3 separate regions of the Homo sapiens genome follow, and all the other regions are linked to region 2. Evidence: promoter capture Hi-C in 16 types of primary human blood cells and fetal thymus (Javierre and others, 2016). All regions are on one chromosome and are shown on one strand. Each heading gives the region's core, a stretch centred on a gene start or on the middle of the fragment in contact. The rest is flanking DNA. Distances are from core to core; before and after follow the strand shown. Region 1 holds the start of CFLAR (CASP8 and FADD like apoptosis regulator). Region 2 holds the start of NDUFS1 (NADH:ubiquinone oxidoreductase core subunit S1). Region 3 overlaps BZW1-AS1 (BZW1 antisense RNA 1).

Region 1 (4,056 bases), core at 647-3,146, 5.0 Mb before region 2:
CCAGGCTGGTCTTGAACTCCTGACCTCGTGATCCACCCGCCTCAGCCTCCCAAAGTGCTGGGATTACAGGCATAAGCCATTGCGCCGGGCCACAAATTTTTTTTTAAAGAATTAGCTGGGCATGGTGGCACCTGTAGTGGCACACCTAGCATGGTGGCATGCTAGGACCTGTAGTCCTAGCTACTCAGGAGGCTGAGGCAGAAGGATCACTTGAACCTGGGAGGTTAAGGCTGCAGTGAGCTGTGATCGGGTCACTGCACTCCAGCCTGGAGTGAGACCCTGTCTCAAAAACAAACAAAAAACCAAACTTGGATAACTGACAGAGTTTAGGATAGAATTACATGGAAAAACCAACAAAACAAGACAATTATTAACTCCAGAAAAAACTAAAAGTTGTGTGGGAAAGGAAAAGTAATCATAGTTTGGTACATAACTTGGCTGTGACTACCGTTTACATGATTATAATAGCATATATACTGAAGATTAATCAAACAGAATATAACTATCTTGGGAAGATGGAGAGATTAAAAAAAAAGGTTGGGGGTGAATATGGGGTGAAAGTGATGGAGAAAAAGAGCTGAAGTCTCCTCTGGTGTCTCAGCACTCCACCCAAGGTAGAGCCTCTGGATGGAAGAAGGAATCTCCCACCTCTCCACCACACTCCCCCAGGATTTACCTTCAGCATCAGGTAGCTAGGGGCAAGATGAGAAATGCTGATATGCTGGTCTCTGACTGGGAGCTGTGGGAAGAGAGAGGTTCTGAGTTGCAGCAGTCTGGAGTGGAGTCTCTTGCTGAACAAAGGGAGAGGTTTGGTTTAAATACCACAGACTGACTCTCACATTCTGATCCAAGAGTTTTCATAGATTTTTTGGAACAGATGTTTCTTCATTTGCTGTTTGCCCTTAGGACCATTTCAAAGGCTTTAAATGGTTAATGGTTGTTTGTTGTTTTAAATAATTTTCAGTTTCACTAGGGGTGAATCCCGAGCTCTTCATGCCGTCCTGCTGTTAGTCTCTCTTGGTATTATTCTTCACCTTTCCTGTGAGTTTAAAATTATCTCAAGAAAAGTTAAAGCTCTTTAAGAATCACAATAAAGTAGTTATTAGGAATAAATAAAAACGTAGAGGGGCGCGGTGGCTCACGCCTGTGATCCCAGCACTTTGGGAGGCCGAGGCGGGCAAGGATCACTTGAGGCCAGCAGTTGGAGACCAGCCTTGCCAACATGGTGAAACCCCATCTCTACTAAAAATACAAAAAAAAAAAAAAATTAGTCGGGCATGGTGGCTTGCACCTGTGGTCCCCGCTACTTGGGAGGCTGAGGGCTGGATGGTTTGAGAGCGGGAAATCCAGGCTGCAGTGAGCTGTGATGGCGCCACTGCCTTCTAGCCTGGGCGACAGCGCGAGACCCTGTCTCAAGAAGGAAAACAAAAAAAAACAAACAAAAACATACACACAAAAAACCACAAAGTGTGTTCACGTTTGCTATGACTCCCAGACAACAATTGTAAACACTCGCGCCGGGCGTGGTGGCTCACGCCTGTAATCCCAGCACTTTGGGAGGCCGAGGCGGGCGGATCACGAGGTCAAGAGTTCGAGACCATTCTGGCCAACAGTGAAACCCCGTCTCTACTAAACACAAAAATTAGGCGGGCGTGCTGGCGCGTGCCTGTAGTCCCAGCTACTCGGGAGGCTGAGGCAAGAGAATCGCTTGAACTAGGAAGGCGGAGGTTGCAGTGAGCTGAAATTGCGCCACTGCACTCCAGCCTGGGCCACAGAGCGAGACTCTGTCTCAAAAAAGAAGGAAAGAAAGAAAGAAAAAAAAAAACACTCGCAGTGTTTACTCCTAACGCGTGGAACTTGTGTCGACATCCACCCCCGGTTACTGCATACTCAGTCACACAAGCCATAGCAGGAAACAGCGAGCTTGCAGCCTCACCGACGAGTCTCAACTAAAAGGGACTCCCGGAGCTAGGGGTGGGGACTCGGCCTCACACAGTGAGTGCCGGCTATTGGACTTTTGTCCAGTGACAGCTGAGACAACAAGGACCACGGGAGGAGGTGTAGGAGAGAAGCGCCGCGAACAGCGATCGCCCAGCACCAAGTCCGCTTCCAGGCTTTCGGTTTCTTTGCCTCCATCTTGGGTGCGCCTTCCCGGCGTCTAGGGGAGCGAAGGCTGAGGTGGCAGCGGCAGGAGAGTCCGGCCGCGACAGGACGGTACGTGCCCCGCGCTCGACCCCCGCGCTGGCGGCGCCGGAGCTGTCCCAGACCCCAAGCCCCGACGCCCGGCCCTGAGTCAGCATTGCAGCAGGCCCTGCGCCGCCGCGCCCCGCGTCCCACCCCGCGCCGCTCCTCACAGCCCTGCGCTCCGGGAAACTGCAGGTGGCCGGCAGTGGCCAGGGGATGGCGGGGGCGCTTCTGGAACCTGACTCAGTTTTGTAGGTTCCTTATCTCGGTTGTTTACCGCGGGCTTTGCGGAATGCCCCCGCTTCCGTTTCCGCCCGGCTCCGAACCCCCGAACCCCTTCTACCCGCAACTCCGCCCCGGATTCCCAGAAAGGGGCGACCTGGGCCACAGCGGTACAAGCTGCACCCCGATGGACCTGAGAGACCGGAAGTAACCCTTGGCCAACTCTGGCCGCCCCCTGCAGCCGCAGCCCCAGAGGCCCACCCGCGAGCTTCAGTGGCGGGCCCTCAGCGTCGTGTAAACTTTGCTTAAAATGATCTTGAGAGTTCAATTCTTGGGGTGAACTGTTGAGAAGATCTGGCATTTTTCCTTTCGAAAGTTGTTGGGAACGTGGACTTTCCCAACAATTGTGTATGCGCTCGATCTCACTCAGTGGGAGCCGCCGCCCTGGAGGGAATTTCACAATAGCCTGGTCAGGGCGGTTATTTTCCAGAGCAGTTTAATGTCTATTTTGCCCAAGTGCAAGGAAAGCTTGCCTTGGGAAAGCTGGGAATGCTTGGCTAATGAAAAGTTTTTAGAGCCTTTTAAAATGAACCTGTTTCTGCCACTTTTCCACCGCCTCAAAACGACTGGGAAATGTAAACTGGCTTCAAGATGTTCTTGCTTGAGGGTGTCTGGATTTGGACAGAAGGCCATGTTCTTTTAATATTAACAGTGGCACGCAGTAGAACAAAGGCCACTGAAATTCAGAATCAGTTTTTGGCTCCACGGGCAGGAAGTAAATTCAAGGACGCCAGAGGTCTTGCGAATATTTTAATTGGTTGACATTTGAAATTTGTTCTTAAGCAATGAGGGGTGAAACCAGTAGGGGGATAGCGTATAGCATAAGTAAAGCTTTTTGGACATCAACAAACTGCGATAATCTACAACAGACAGCGGGCTCTGGAAGGTTTGACCTGCTTTAGAGAGAGATTTCCGATAAGAGGAACGGAGTTTTTGGCACTTTTCGGTTTGGTGATTCCCCTAAATAACCTTACAAAAGTTTCGTTGAACAAAAAACCTGGCTGGAGCTCCAAGATCTTTTTTTTTTTTTTTTTTTTTTGAGACAGCATTTCACTCTTGTTGCCCAGGCTGGAATGCAATGGCACTATCTCTGCTCACCGCAACCTCCGCCTGTCGGGTTCAAGCGATTCTCGTGCCTCAGCCTCTCAAGTAGCTGAGATTACAGGCATGCACCACCATGCCCGGCTAGTTTTGTATTTTTAATAGAGACGGGGTTTCTCCATGTTGGTCAGTCTGGTCTCGAACTCCTGACCTTAGGTGATCCGCCCGCCTCGGCATCCCAAAGTGCTGGGATTACAGGCGTGAGCCACCATGCCCGGCCCAACTCCAAGATCTAAACAAAAAAGACTGGGTTGAAAGGGAGTTTTTAATGTTTACTGTTTGCTTTACATCCATTTTCTTGTTTTGTTAATACTTGCTTTACTTAAGCTTTTGGGTCAAATGTCCTCGTTAAAATGGCTTTCTCTAGCGACTTTATGTTTTACGTTTCTGTTTGTAACTGACATTTGACCTTCTTTTAACACGGTATTACTTGCTTCCTTATACCGGTTTCCAAGGTGAAGCCATTTGCAGGGTCGCTGGGTTTCCCCC
Region 2 (4,047 bases), core at 1,246-3,745:
CTGACAATCAGTATGTGTGTGTGTTTTGAGACAGAGTCTCACTCTGTCACCCAGGTTGTAGTGCAATGGTGTGATCTTGACTCACTGCAACCTCCGCCTCCCAAGTTCAAGCAATTCTCTTGCCTCCCAAGTAGCTGGGATTACAGGCACCTGTCATCACGCCCGGCTAATTTTTGTATTTTCAGTAGAGAAGGGGTTTCGCCATGTTGGCCAGGCTGGTCTCAAACTCCTGACCTCAGTGATCCACCCGCGTCGACCTCCCAACGTGTTGGGATTACAGACGTGAGTCACCGCGCCTGGCAGACAACCAATTTTAAAGCACTCTTTCTTTGAGCTCTTTTTCTTTAGTACCAGTACACACTGTGTAGATATTTTTGTTTTACTTACTAAACTGTAGGTTAGTAATCAATTTTAGTACCTACCAGACTGTAAGCTCCTTGAGGACAAGGAATTTGGACATTTCCCTTTTTTGAAGACCTAGCACAGGACCCTTATGAAAATAACCACCAAACAGTCTTATCACCAAGTTCTAGAACTAGAGTAGCATCTGTCCTATTAAAAACTACTGATGGCATAAATATAAACCTAAACTTACTCCATTAGAGCACTGACAGATTTGAAATCAACAATCAGTATTTCATACAATTTTAAAACTTTAATACTTTTTTATCTCCAATGCAATATAAAAATAGTACTCACTTTGGATAGGAAATCAACTAGAACTAGACTGTTGACATCCAGCAACAAAGCATAGCCCAACATAAGAAATACAGATTTGCAACACTTCGATATGTGCTTTGAACATTGATATGCCAAGTAGCAATAGAAATAATTATCTCTTTGGATGGAAAATGTTAATGACTAATCATTTCTTAAACTAGACTGGATACTTTTCCATATAGGGACTATGCTATTCCACGTTCTCCAACATGGATCCATCCATTTACTTCTTGCCTTCCAAGGTACCACCCTATCCCAATCCACCATCACTCCTTGCCTGGAGTATTTCAATAGCTTTTTTTTTTTTTTTTTTGAGACAGAGTCTCGCTCTGTCGCCCAGGCTGGAGTGCAGCGGAGCGATCTCGGCTCACTGCAAGCCCCGCCACCCGGGTTCACGCCAGCCTCCTGCCTCAGCCTCCCAAGTAGCTGGACTACAGGCGCCCGCCACCACGCCCAGCTAATTTTTTGTATTTTTAGTAGAGACAGGGTTTCACCGTGTTAGCCAGGATGGTCTCGATCTCCTGGCCTCGTGATCCGCCCGCCTCGGCCTCCCAAAGTGGTGGGATTACAGGAGTGAGCCACCGCCTCCGGCCTTCAATAGCTTAACAGGTCACCAAGCTTCCACACTATTCCCACACAGCCTCTCCCCTCTTGCCACCGGCTGTGACCTCAGACTGAAATGCTCTTCCCTGGCCCCTCCTTATCCTTCAAATCTTGGCTTAAAAGCCTTTTCTCAGTTTCATTGACCAGGCTATCTAACATTTACGATTCCCCCAGCATATCATCCATTTTATTCTTCTTTACGGACTCATTTCTGGCTCGTAGTAAATGTTCAATAACGGTTAAGTGAACTGAATCTCTAATTTCTGGTCGTTAATTTGTAGAGACCACTTTCCCGGATTTAAAAAGTGCAGGTGCTCTGGCAGCCTTAAGTCGGTGAAAACAAGAATATTCCGCAAAACAAAAATAACTTGTTTATTCATCAAAAACAGTTAACGTTACACTTCTATACCGTCAATTCGTGTGTGAACAGAGTTGTGTCTGATCCAAGACCTTACAGTTCAAGCACTGGATCCCAATAACCTGTAAACAACGTTTTGTTATTTGCAATGCAATCCTGGGCTAACTTTTCAAAAGTCGTTTTTCTCAATTTCCCGTTAGTTAAAGGAATAAAAAAATGCTGTCCAACGTGGTCAATGGACCAAACAAACAAGGACAACAAACAGAAGCGTGAGCCATTGCTAACACAACAGCGACCAAACAATCATGCACTGTATCAGGCGTGTAAAAATCTGGGGGGAAAGGCTTAGTCTTAAGGCCTAAGTCATCGGACACTGGTCCTCTCCCGGGGAATAAAACGGCCTCCTCCTCTGAGAGGGAAATGTCCTGAATTTTCCCTGCAGAGGGAAGGTCACCTGCAAGCCTACATTCGTGACAGCGTTCCCGAGGACCCCCTGATCCTCATCTTCTTTTCTGCTTCATCAGACCAGAGACCGTGGCTAAAAGCCCCCCATCTGCCGGCTCTCAGGGGCTTCCGAGGCGGCGGGGCGGGAGGCGGCGCCCAGTCAAGGACAACAGAAGACTACGTCGCGTGGGCCAAAGGAAACAGTCCCGTCAATAAATAAGCCTCTGGCCGACGCACCTCACCCTTCCCATCCATACAAGACCTCACCTTCTCCCCGGAGCCGCGGAGGCTGTTCTGCTAAACTGTCTGGACCACGACGACCCCCTAGGAGGCCGGGTCGCTTATTCAATATGGCGGCCTCGGCTAACTCTGTCAGCCGGGCCTGGAGAACGGAAAGCCCGGAGGGACTAGAATCCTTGCATTCGACAAGTTTGTCGGCAATTTCCGTCAGCCGACCAGAGGGCGGAGCTGAGGTCGGCCCAGCCCGGAGGCGGGAAGGACAACTTGGACCCGCAGTTCCGCCGGAAGTGGCCCCAGCCTCGAGGCCGGGCGTCTTCGGTCATCTCCGGCGCTTCTAGGGCTGGTTCCCGTCATCTTCGGGAGCCGTGGAGGTACGAACTTAAGACATGCCTATTTTATTAATTTACTTCCAAACGCAACGAAAGGTCCATGGACAATTTGTGGGCCATTTAATTCAGGGCCCCCAATTCGTACGTGGAGAAGTGGGAATGCAAAAGTACTTTGACCTTTAACCTTCGGTCCGGCGCGGTGGAGGGAAACGCCTCCGTCTCTATATAAGGAATTTTCCGGTCTCTTCGGGTCCTTTTTCCTCTCTTCAGCGTGGGGCGCCCACAATTTGCGCGCTCTCTTTCTGCTGCTCCCCAGCTCTCGGATACAGCCGACACCATGGGTTTCGGAGACCTGAAAAGCCCTGCCGGCCTCCAGGTGCTCAACGATTACCTGGCGGACAAGAGCTACATCGAGGGGTGAGCGGACGGGCTGAGTCGGGGTGGCGGGGAGGTTTCTCCGCCCGGGGCCGGGGCCACGTGGCGCAGCGTGTCGGCTGCCGCGGGAGGGAGGGAGGCCGGGCCCGGGGCCCTTTCGAGAGGGAGGGGAAAGCGCCCCGTTGCCGTCTCCCAAGGCCCTCGTGTGGGGCGAGCCCGGCCTCCGGGGAGCGGTTCACGAGCAAGGAAAGGTTAAAATGTGCTTTATTTACACTTAATTCAGCCAGGTGTTTCCGCATCGCTGCCCAGTTAATACATGTTAAGCTGTAGATAGAGCAACGCCAGACATTGCAGTATTTGAGGTCTACTTAGTGGCAGACATTTCTCAGGATAGCGCGGTGACCCAAACATATGGTTTGATTTGAAGGAGCTAATAAGAAAAGAAAAGCATTAAAGCAACCCTGCTGGGGTTAGTGCCCACTAATTAATGTGATGCATACGGTATTTATTATTTATTCGCTGGCGTTTGTTTTTCAAAGGTGTGTGTGAATGTTTCTGTGTCCTTGGCAGGTATGTGCCATCACAAGCAGATGTGGCAGTATTTGAAGCCGTGTCCAGCCCACCGCCTGCCGACTTGTGTCATGCCCTACGTTGGTATAATCACATCAAGTCTTACGAAAAGGAAAAGGCCAGGTAAAATCATCTTTGTATAGAGCTGAAGAATAAGACTGCTCTCGAAGTTTATCAGGATGTTCACATGACAAAACTGGACCCAGGCTACTTTAGTTTTGTTGGGATATTGTAAGCTAAATTTTTCTGTAACCTTAGAAGGCCAAGAGACTGAAGCCCTCCATTTTTTCACAGAACAGGTAGAACATGGACAGCAGCAATTCAACTTTTCCCCACACTGCCCTGCCAATGTGCCTCGACCTTGACCTGGGGGGCCCACCTCTGGGGTGAGAGGGTGGCTCATTCATT
Region 3 (3,999 bases), core at 376-2,875, 5.4 Mb before region 2:
TGATCCGCCCGCCTCGGCCTCCCAAAGTGCTGGGATTACAGGCGTGAGCCACCACGTCCGGCCTCTTAGTAACATTTCTTAATCTTCAGTTCTGCAGTAATATTCTAGGAGATATGAACTATTAATAATAAGCAGTAAACAGTTTTTTCTAAACAATCCTATAGCTAACATACCACATGCCATTACACTGTTCTCTTGTTGGTTTTTATTTTGCTTCGTTTTAATGAATGTCTTGAATGCTATATAACTTAGAATGCACATATTTAAATCACCCCAAATATCACTTATTTGGCAACTCACTTCAAACTATATTCTGAACAAGCACTTTACAGGAGCAAAGAGTTTTCACCTTAACCTGTCATTATTCTGATGTTAAGAGGGGAGAGAGAGAAACAGAAAATGCATGTATGCCAAATTTCTTGAATCCCTAAGCTTCCCAATTATTTCGGCCTATTCAAAAATCGAGTCCAGGTGTGGTGGCTCACGCCTATAAATCCCAACATTTTGAGAGGCAGAGGTGGGAGGATTGCTAAAGCCCATGAGTTGGAGGTCATTCTGGGCAACATAACCAGATCCTGTCTCTATTAAAAAAAAAAAAAAAACTAAAATCTAAATAATAGAGTGTGTTTGCTAAAAGAGGGTATTTATTTAACAAATATTACTAAAATGTTAATGTAACTAAGCAATGCTTTTTATCTTGATTATGTCAAATATTATTAATAATTATAACTATTAAAATAATTCTATGAAGAAGTAAAAGAAATGGTATATATGAGATATGTAGCAAGTGAATGATATTTAACACATTTTTTACCTAAAATGAAATTATTTAAAAGCTCATTGTACCTCAAAGCTTTTTCACTGTAAAAATTTTGTGGAGCCTATGAAAATACTTCTGGCCACACATACATACATAAATATATGCATACATATATAGGTGTGTGTAACTAGAAGTATTTCATATACATATGCTACAATATTTAAGCCAGGTTCATAGGATGTTCTATAAGCTTCTACAAGACTCAAAGCATAGGAATAAATACTTCCCCCAGCTCATTTTCCAAGGGCAACAATGTGCTTTTCAAAACAGGCCCTTGATATTCTTCTAGTTGTTAGGAATAAAAACCTATTGTCACTTGCTTTTAAAAAAGAAACACTTAGGTATCCATTCCCATCAATGAAGTTAAAAGCAGTAGCACATTCACATGTTGCACTTAGCACCTTTCTTTTTAAGTAGTTCAAAATTTTTAAATCCAAAAGTACTAAGGGGGATTCACAGCAATGGCAGAGTGAAGAAATCAGCATATCCTTTTTCCCAAAACAACCATAAAACTGGGCAAGGCTAGGCGTGATGATTCACACCTATAATCTCAGCACTTTGGGAGGCTGAGGCGGGAGGCTCACCTAAGGCCAGGAGTTTGAGACCAGCCTGGGCCACAAAGCAAAACCCCATCATCACCAAAAAAAAAAAAAAAAAATTAGCAGACTCAGTGGCTCATGCCTGTAGCCCAATTACAAAGAAGGAATGTGTTCACATCCATGACTAAGAAAGGCTTATGGGAAAAAAGCAGTAGTTGAGATAAGGCTTGAAACAATAGTGGGATTTTGACAGTGGAAAATGAGGGAAGGACATCTCAAGAAAGGTCAAGACAAGATGTGTCCTGTCTGACCAAAGCATAGAGTTCAATTGTTTGGAACCTTTTCCTACCATAATACAATTCACAAACAACGTTTCCCCTGCTAGCTGCACGGTGCCTATTCCCATGGGTGCACCCAAAAGCAGAGAAAAGATAAGTGGCAAGGTGTGGTCTGTAATCCCAACACTTCAGGAGGCCAAGGTGGGAGGATTATTTGAGGCCAGGAGTTCAGGAAAACCTTTAATCCACTTTACATTTTAAAGAAAATAATCTGCTTACTTTAATATCATTTTTAGTCAAAAATCATTTGCTACATACCCCACAATGATGGTAATAACAGGTTAAGAACCACAAATGTGATGGGAAGTAAAGGTGAAAAACATTGGTCAGAGCTATCCCTGAGTATAAACAGAGGCATTTAAACAGTGAAGAGAAATGATTCAGCTTGCAGTTGAGAAGATTGCTCTGGAAATGTTGAGAAAGGGGATAGTACAGTTAGGAAGTTATTGCAAAAGTCCCATTTAGTTAGGGGTAATAGATGCCTAAATCAAGATGGTACTGGGGAAAGATGATACAATTTTAAAACGTGGCAAAAATAGAAGATAAGCTTTGTGAGGCCATAGGCGTAACATGTCACTATCTCTACTGGTCTCTAGCTGAATAAATATTTGTTGAATGAATAAATAAGATCTTGGTGGTAAGGCGGTGCATTATAATGGTGAAGCCAGACTGCTTGGGTTCAACTGGACCTCTTCCACTTACTAGCGCTATGATCTTAGACAAGTTACCTGACCTCGATGCCTCGGCTTTTCCATCTGTAAAATGGGACTAATAATAGTGTCTAGATTACAGGGTAGTTTTCAGGATGAAATGGGGTTACTACATAAAGTGCATAGAAGAGGGCCTGATACATATAGGGACATATTAGTTATCATTTTTATTTGTGAAACGTTGTCCTTTAACAGAACTTCAGATGTGAAAAATACAGTTCTGGGGGAAGAGCAATTGACAGCACTGACAGTGTTAAATTAGCCATGAAGTGAAGATGCCAGATAGTGTGGACTGGGGCCTTGGGAGAAAGGAAGGGGCTAGACACTTAGAGATCAGACTCCAGCCACTTCCCTCTGCTCCCCACAGCCCTCCCAATCACACTAGCTTCTTGCAGTTCCTCCAACAGATGCAGTTTGTTTCCTGCCTCCTTCCCACTGCTGTTGCCTCAACTTGGAAGGGCATAGAGCCTGGATTTAACAAATATTTGCTTAATGATTCAGTAGATGATCTTGGAACTCTTTTAAGTGGAGTAAATGTTAAATCCTTGAGAATGTATGAGACTGCCATAGAAGAAAGTATCCAGAAAGAAAAGGTATCAGTACAGAAAAGAAGAGTCAGAAAATACCGTGCAAAGGCACATTCAGAACGTAACCAGGATAGCTGGAGCCAGGATTCAAGGAGAGAGGTAGGTAACATTCAATGCTCAGAGGAGGCAAACAGGGTGAAGAATAAAACACTGGGTTTGGCAATAATTTCAGGAACGAACGCTGAGAAAGTCATTTTTCCATGAAGTTGCGGGGGGGTGGGGTAGAGGTCAGATAGTTAATTAGGGAAAAGAAGTCAACAAACTATTTTATCAAAAGGTTTAGGGAAGAGAAGCCACTCTCCTCCTACCAGAGAGTGAGGAAGCAACTGGAGAGAAGTAAACTACTGTACAGTGAATAAAAACATGGGGCTACATCCTAGAGGCGCTGTGCATCTTTATCTGCACAGAGTTTTGTCACGTCCACAGTGCTTTTCACACGCACTATCTAATCTGATCGTACCCCAGCTCCCTGATGATATAGCCTCTAACTGAGGGGTTCTCAAGGTGCGGACCAGCAGCAGCATCACAGATAACTTGTTGGAAATGCACATTCATGGGTTCCACACCAGGCCTACAGAATGAGAAACTACGGGTGGGGCCCAGCAGTCTGTTATAACAAGTCCTCCAAGGGATTCTGATGCTCTCCAAGTCCCCATAGCCACCACACTCGGGAGACAACCGCTGCAGCGCGCAGGGACCGCGGTTGGAGGACAGAATTTCCCCTTCTCAATCTTCGGCCTGTGTCCTCTTCGCTCTTAAGGGAGGTAGTGAACAATGAGACAGCCCCTCAGAGAAAAGTCGCCAGGCAGGGGACTCAGCTGGAGCGAACTCCGCCCATCCCGGCCAGGGCGGAGGCGAGGTGCGGATTCCTTCCCCAAACCACGCCCCCATGCCCGCCCCCAGCCTCCGCCCCCGCACGACCCGAGGGCCCCCCGCCCTCGGGCTTCGACTTCCGGTGCTGGAGGAGGGGGCCGGCGGCGAGGGACTCCAGGAGGACGCGTCCAA

Evidence for each region. Contacts are between HindIII fragments. The CHiCAGO score rates a contact against its expected background, and 5 or more counts as called.
Region 1: a contact is called between the fragment with the promoter of CFLAR here and the fragment with the promoter of NDUFS1 in region 2, in 1 of 17 cell types (fetal thymus). The highest score is 5.2, in fetal thymus.
Region 3: a fragment that was not itself captured here is called in contact with the fragment with the promoter of NDUFS1 in region 2 in 2 of 17 cell types (non-activated CD4 T cells and monocytes); the score reaches 10.7 in non-activated CD4 T cells.

The regions. Positions count from the first base shown.
Region 1 is chr2:201,114,268-201,118,323 of GRCh38, forward strand. CFLAR (CASP8 and FADD like apoptosis regulator) reads left to right here and starts at 1,897. Exons shown (of 10, transcript NM_003879.7): 1 at 1,897-2,214. LOC105373836 (a long non-coding RNA gene) reads right to left here and starts at 2,417. Exons shown (of 3, transcript XR_923785.3): 1 at 677-2,417. RefSeq lists enhancers at 1,883-2,142, 3,783-3,832 and a silencer at 2,173-2,382. The HindIII fragment of the contact is 6,122 bases long and covers 1-2,932 here.
Region 2 is chr2:206,156,949-206,160,995 of GRCh38, forward strand. It overlaps NDUFS1 (NADH:ubiquinone oxidoreductase core subunit S1), which reads right to left and starts at 2,496. Exons shown (of 19, transcript NM_005006.7): 1 at 2,393-2,496. It overlaps EEF1B2 (eukaryotic translation elongation factor 1 beta 2), which reads left to right and starts at 2,947. Exons shown (of 6, transcript NM_001959.4): 1 at 2,947-3,111; 2 at 3,640-3,762. The coding sequence starts at 3,032. RefSeq lists enhancers at 2,174-2,583, 2,694-2,953 and a silencer at 3,214-3,283. The HindIII fragment of the contact is 3,079 bases long and covers 1,337-4,047 here.
Region 3 is chr2:200,807,605-200,811,603 of GRCh38, forward strand. All of the region lies in intron 1 of BZW1-AS1 (BZW1 antisense RNA 1), which reads right to left. It also overlaps a transcript of BZW1 not described here. Among named protein-coding and RNA genes, the nearest start is that of BZW1, 2.3 kb to the right of the region's middle. RefSeq lists an enhancer at 3,520-3,779 and a silencer at 3,830-3,979. The HindIII fragment of the contact is 1,234 bases long and covers 1,009-2,242 here.